2 separate regions of the Homo sapiens genome follow, and region 1 is linked to region 2. Evidence: promoter capture Hi-C in human tissues and cell types (Jung and others, 2019). All regions are on one chromosome and are shown on one strand. Each heading gives the region's core, a stretch centred on a gene start or on the middle of the fragment in contact. The rest is flanking DNA. Distances are from core to core; before and after follow the strand shown.

Region 1 (3,252 bases), core at 354-2,853, 180 kb before region 2:
TCTCTAGCTAGCTTAAGGTCTGCCATCCTTCAGATCTTAGCTCAAACATCTCTTTTTTTATTTTTGAGACGGAGTTTCACTCTTTCGCCCAGGCTGGAGTGCAGTGGTGCAATCTCGGCTCGCTGCAAGCTCCGCCTGCTGGGTGCATGCCATTCTCTTGCCTCAGCCTCCCAAGTAGCTGGGACTACAGGCGCCCGCCACCACGCCCAGCTAATTTTTTGTATTTTTTAGTAGAGACGGGGTTTCACCATGTTAGCCAGGATGGTCTTGATCTCCTGACCTTGTGATCCACCCGCCTCGGCCTCCCAAAGTGCTGGGATTACAGGCGTGAGCCACCGCACCCACCCTCAAAACATCTCTTTAGGGAAGCTTTTATTCACCACCCAGACTAGAATAGATGTACTATAAGAGCCAGTACTTCTAATGTAACTTAAACAGTGTTACTGCCTTTGGTCAGCTTTTTAGCTAGACTGTAGATTCCTTGTGAGCAGGGAACATGTTTATTTTGGACACTGGATATTTCCCCCCCTAAATGATAACCATACTTTTAGTCTCCAAAAAAAAAATAGAACTTCAACATTTTCCATTTTTATTTTTATAGGTAATATCTTGCTCTGGTGGCCCAGGATGGAGTGCGGTGGCAAGATCATAGCTCACTGCAACCTCAAAATCCTCGGCTCATGCGATCTTCCCACTCCAGCCTCCCAAGTAGCTGGGACTTAGAGGTGTGCACCACCATGCCTGGCTAATTAAGAAAAATATTTTTGTGCAGATGAAGGTCTTGCTATCTTGCCCAGGCTGGTCTTGAGCTCCTGGCCTCAAGCAATCCTCCTGCCTCAGCCCCCCAAAGTGCTGGGATTACAGATATGAGCTACTGTGCCTGGCCTTTTATTTTTATCTACAACATCTCCTCAACATTTCTGAAATCTGAATGAGGCCAATAACGACCTTAATTCTAAGTTGCTTAAATTTTCTAACCAAAAGCTGGGAGTTGACTAAAACAGTGACTTATCTGTTTCAGAATATTCCATATTTAAACAAACTAAACTGCCATTTCCATCCATGATTTCACCCTGTGACTGTCATTTTTTAGCTTTGGAACATTTCTGAAATGCCATATATGAATATATGATGGTGATGCAAGAAAAGGGGTTGATGCTATCTAGGGGGAATCATGTATTCAAATCTGCAAGACTGAAATCTTACCTTTAAAGAATGTTTAGATTAAAACACCAAAGGTATCTTTTTTTTTTGAGATGGAGTCTCGCCCTGTTGCCCAGGCTGGAGTGCAGTGGTGCGATCTTGGCTCACTGCAAGCTCCACCTCCTGGGTTCGCACCATTCTCCTGCCTCAGCCTCCCGAGTAGCTGGGACTACAGGCGCCCGCCACCACACCCGTCTAATTTTTTGTATTTTTAGTAGAGACGGGGTTTCACCGTTAACCAGGATGGTCTCGATCTCCTGACCTCATGATCTGCCTGCCTCGGCCTCCCAAAGTGCTGGGATTACAGGTGTGAGCCACCGCGCCCGGCAAAACACCAAAGGTATCTTATACTCAGTTACGTATATTTGGTAATATCACCATGGTGGTTTAGAAAGATGTCCACAAATGCTTTGACATCCCCGCCTTCAACAGATGAAGCTTAATATTCCTCCCCCTTTGAGTGTGGACCAGACCCAGTGACTTGATTCTAACATACAATATGGCAGCCCAAGATTCAGTTCTAAGACTGTGCTTTTGGCTGGGCATGGTGGCTCACACCTGTAATCTCAGCACTTTGGGATGCCGAGGCGGACGAATCACTTGAGGTCAGGAATTTGAGACCAGCCTGGCCAACATGGTGAAACCCCGTCTCTATGAAAAATACAAAAATTAGCCGGGCATGTTGATGGGCACCTGTAATCCCAGCTACGTGGGAGGCTGAGGCAGGAGAATCGCTTGAACCCGGGAGGGGGAGGTTGCAGTGAGCTGAGATTGCAGCACTGCAGTCCAGTCAGTCTAGGCAACAGAGCGAGACTCCATCTCAAAAAAAAAAAAAAAAAAAAAAAAAAAAAGACTGTGCTTTCAACTTGGGTGTGCGCTCTCTTGGATCACTTGCCTTGGGGGAAGCCAGCTACCCTGCTGTGCACTGTCCTATGGAAAGACCCAGCTGGGCATGAAATGGAAGCAGGTCTCTGTCCAACATCTAGCAAGGAACATCTGCCTTTCATCTAGCAAGCTGCAAAGAACCGAGGCCAGTCAGTGACCACATTAGTGGGTTTGAAAGGGGATCTTTCATCCAGTCAATCCTTGAGATGACTGTAGCCCAGGATGACTCTAACCTTATGAGGAACTCTGAACCAGAACCATTGATCTTAGCTACTTCCAGATTTGTGACTCACCTGTGGGATAATACGTATTTATTGTTTTAAGCTGCTAAGTTTTGGGGTAATGTGTTATGGATAATACAATGGTTTATAGATTGAAAAGCTCCTCATTGCCAAATGAGGCATAAATCAAGTAAGATATTTTTCACCAAGCAGCCCCGAGCTAGCATATCCAATTATGTTTCTAGAAGTGATATACTTACTAAAACCATGCTGTTACTGCTCAATTTTTTGAAATTAACTCTCAGAGCATGAATCCTACTCTTTGGAATTTCCCTTAATGGTGTCAATTCAGAATTTAAAGGCATTTTTGTCATTTGCAGTAAGTCTTGTGGTTAATGAGTGAATCTGTTTATCATGTGTCAAGCTTAAGGCATACTTTCAAGGAAAAGGGCTTACTTTTCTGTTGTAGGAAAATGCCAGGAGTCTTAAGAATGTTTGATATAACACCAGCACAATCAAAACGGCTGTATATTTCCAAAACAACTAGCTTGAAAGATGGAACTAATTTGGATGTGTAATTTAAAATTCTTTCTCCCAACATCACTACTTTATGGTCATATCTCACAGGATGGGTAAATCAAGCCAGATTTCTTGAAAACCATAATATACACTGGGGGATTTGTATACCTTGTGATACCTATATTTAAAGTAGTCTTCTTTGGAATCAACAGAAATTACCACTAGATGCCACTGTTGTTGCTTTCTTAGAAATTACTGGGTTAGGTCAAGAAAGAGCCAAGACCCTGTTTTTACTACACAGAAGTTTATTGTGAAAGTAAATTAAACAAACAAACACACAGTATGGCCAATGGTGGCAAAAGCAATCTGGTAGCTTAAGGCAAGTTTTAATGGAGATGAATTTAGAAAAGATGATGCAATGATG
Region 2 (2,985 bases), core at 338-2,837:
ACAGACTCCAGGGAGCCCTGGCAACCTGGTTAGAATCCTGATTGCAGCTTATTGAATGGCAGGAGGAGGCTTGAGGGCTGCCCCTCCATGTACAGGGGAGCGCTGAGATTCACCCACGTGCTCCCCAGGGCAGAGGTAACTGCTCAGAGCTGTTGCTGCTCTGCCCCTCCTCCCCACATACTTCAAGGAATGCAGAAGGCATGGTATTTTCAGATCAAGTGAGGGTCCCCAGGCCTTCCTGGCTCTGTCACTTATTGACTGTGTGACCCTAGGCAAACCACTCAGCTTCTCTGTGCCCCAGCATGTGCCCAATGCCCCTTCAGAACGCAGTATGTGGCATAATGAAGGTATGTGCTCAGAGCAGTGCTGGGCACAGAGCAGGAGCTTAACACGTGTGAAACCCCCTTCAACCTCCCCACACTACACTGCTCCAGGCTGGGTGCCAGAGTGACCCTGAAGCAGGCACTCAGCTTGTGACAAGGCTGGGGGCAGCTGGGGGTAGCTTCTGGCCTGAGAGAGACTAATCAGATGTACAGTGGGAAGGACTTCGTGGGGACCATGGGAAGCTCCAAGGCTGGAGAGGGACTGGAGACCTTCTTCCCACCCTCTCCCCTCATTCCAGACTCCCAGGCCCCAGAAGCATCTCCTGGCTCTGCTTGGCTGCCCTCATTGCGGGGAGAGCCCCTGTTCAGCCCTGCAACTCCCTCAAGGTCACCTGAGCCAGTTTAATCTTCTTAGGGGCATGAGACTGCCCACTGTCTCAGCCCTGTCACTGTTGAGTGGCCAGTGTAAGGACTTCGGGAGCTCATAGGCTGCTGCACTCCCCCACCACAGGTCCCCCTGGGGGGGGTGGTCTGGAGCCCCAATACCCACTTCCACTCATGTACTGCTCACCCATCCTTTGCAACCTCCAGCTCCTTGTCTTAGTTCCACAAGCCATGCGGAGCTGCCAGGGCAGAATGAGAGCCAGGTCATTCCTGAGTCCCTGAGTTCTGCTCTCAAAGGGCTCCCAATCTAATGGAAGAGGCAGACAATGACAAGCTGGTGTCCTCTGTGTATTAATAGAGATAGCACATGGCATGGTGTGAGGGGGAGGGGCATTCCCAGAGGAGGCTCCTGAACAAGCCTGGGAACATAGGGGAAGTTTCCTGGAAAAAGGAATATTTGAGCTGAGCACTGAAGCATGCATGAGCAGGTGCTTACCACACAGATGAATGAGTGGGAAGGGTGTTCCATGCAAAAGGAACAGAGTGTGAAAAGGTGTGGCTGCAGACACTGGAGCCTGGGAGATAAGTCAGACCAAGTCTGGAGCCACAGAAAAAGTAACGTCCAGAACCAGAGGGCCAAGGAATACCTCCTGGGCTGTGCTGGGGTCGAGGGAGTGCCAGGCCAACCATCTCCCCACCTCCTGGAGCTGGCAGTCACGGATGCTGAGCAGCTCCTGGCTTTCCAAAGTCAATGAGTAACTTGGGGGGCTGGGCGGGGCCAGGCCTGCTGCTGTGGGCCCAGTGGCCTTTTCCACTCCTGAGCAAGCGTGGCTGAACCCTCCTACCTGCTCAAGTGCCCTGCCTTGCCCCACCCAGCCCAGCCTGGCCAGAGCCCCCTGGAGAAGGAGCTCTCTTCTTGCTTGGCAGCTGGACCAAGGGAGCCAGTCTTGGGCGCTGGAGGGTGAGGGGCTGGGAGTGGAGGGGAGGGCATGGCTGAGGCTGAGGTTGGTGGTGGGGAAAGGAGAAACACTGCCCTGTCCTCGCCATCTGGGAAAGAATTCCCAGGGCCTCATCTTAGAGGGGTTGTCGATTTGTCGCTGCTCTGCCTGCCCAGCTCCATGACAAGGGCTGGAAAATGATGAGACAAGGGCCGGGCTCCTGCTCCGGGGGTTCTCCTTGTCTAGAAGGTGGCAGTGGGAGGCAGGACAGTCCCAGAGGCCCTGAGCTAGGAGGACTCCTCCTGTGGTCAAGTCCTCTGTGACCTTGGCCAGACCCCAGCATTCAGGCCTTGCCTGCAACAAGAGGTGACTTCAGGAAGTGACCCTCCAAGTCTTCAGGAACTTTCCAGCTTCAAACTTTTGTGATTTGGGGGATTGCTAGAAAATTACCACTTTGGGATCTGCGGCCTGGGGAGGCTATGGTGAGAAGGAGCTGGAGGTCTGGAGGTGAAATTCTGATAGAGTGCTTGATGGACCAAGAGCCTAGAAGCAGGGTGGCTGGGCCTGGGGGCCTTGGTGGGCCTGGCCGAGGAGCAGGGCACTACCCTGCAGGAGATGGAGAGCCTCAGCTCCTTTGGAGGGGAGGAAGAGAAGACTAGTCTGCAGTACGATCCCACTAGTTGTGTGTGTGGGATGGAAAGCCCCTCCCTACCCACCTGGGCTGGATCCTCACTGCCGTGTCCCTCAGGCCTGTCCTGACCATGGTCCCTGCCTGGCTGTGGCTGCTTTGTGTCTCCGTCCCCCAGGTGAGCTAGGCCCTGCCCCCTCTCCTTCAGGTCTTGGCTTTGGGGGTTGACACCCTTGCCCCCAACTCCACCTGGACCAATTGCACTGACCGTGAGAACGGTGCAAGGCATGGGAGGGGTCAGAGCTGGGACTATAGAGCCACTGTGGGATGAGGAGGTCAAAGACCAGAGCGCGGGTGGATGGACTAAGGTACAGCCAGGCCCTGGGAAGGGGCGGAAATTCCGCTCTTCTGTTGGGTCTCAGTGCCCACGCAGGAAGATAGAGCCTGGTGACAAGGTGAGAATCCTCCCACAGGCTCTCCCCAAGGCCCAGCCTGCAGAGCTGTCTGTGGAAGTTCCAGAAAACTATGGTGGAAATTTCCCTTTATACCTGACCAAGGTGAGCCGGAGAGCTGGGGTTGGGGCCGGGGGGATCCCTCCCCGCAAAGTCCTGCTTCTCCTTCCTCTGGCACCCTTCCTCTTGCTGTTTCTCTTTGAAATCCTGCTTTCCAGAGAGTATGTACACGTTACACAGGTTGAGTGTCCCCTATCTGA

What was found. Contacts are between HindIII fragments. The study calls those that stand out against the background at their distance.
Region 1: a fragment that was not itself captured here is called in contact with the fragment with the promoter of CDH16 in region 2 in 2 of the 25 tissues and cell types used here (dorsolateral prefrontal cortex and mesendoderm cells).

Annotation. Positions count from the first base shown.
Region 1 is chr16:67,100,922-67,104,173 of GRCh38, reverse strand. It overlaps CBFB (core-binding factor subunit beta), which reads right to left. Exons shown (of 6, transcript NM_022845.3): 6 at 3,116-3,252. Among named protein-coding and RNA genes, the nearest start is that of PHAF1, 7.4 kb to the left of the region's middle. The HindIII fragment of the contact is 4,683 bases long and covers 1-3,252 here.
Region 2 is chr16:66,917,487-66,920,471 of GRCh38, reverse strand. CDH16 (cadherin 16) reads left to right here and starts at 1,587. Exons shown (of 18, transcript NM_004062.4): 1 at 1,587-1,668; 2 at 2,394-2,451; 3 at 2,747-2,830. The coding sequence starts at 2,407. The HindIII fragment of the contact is 12,408 bases long and covers 1-2,985 here.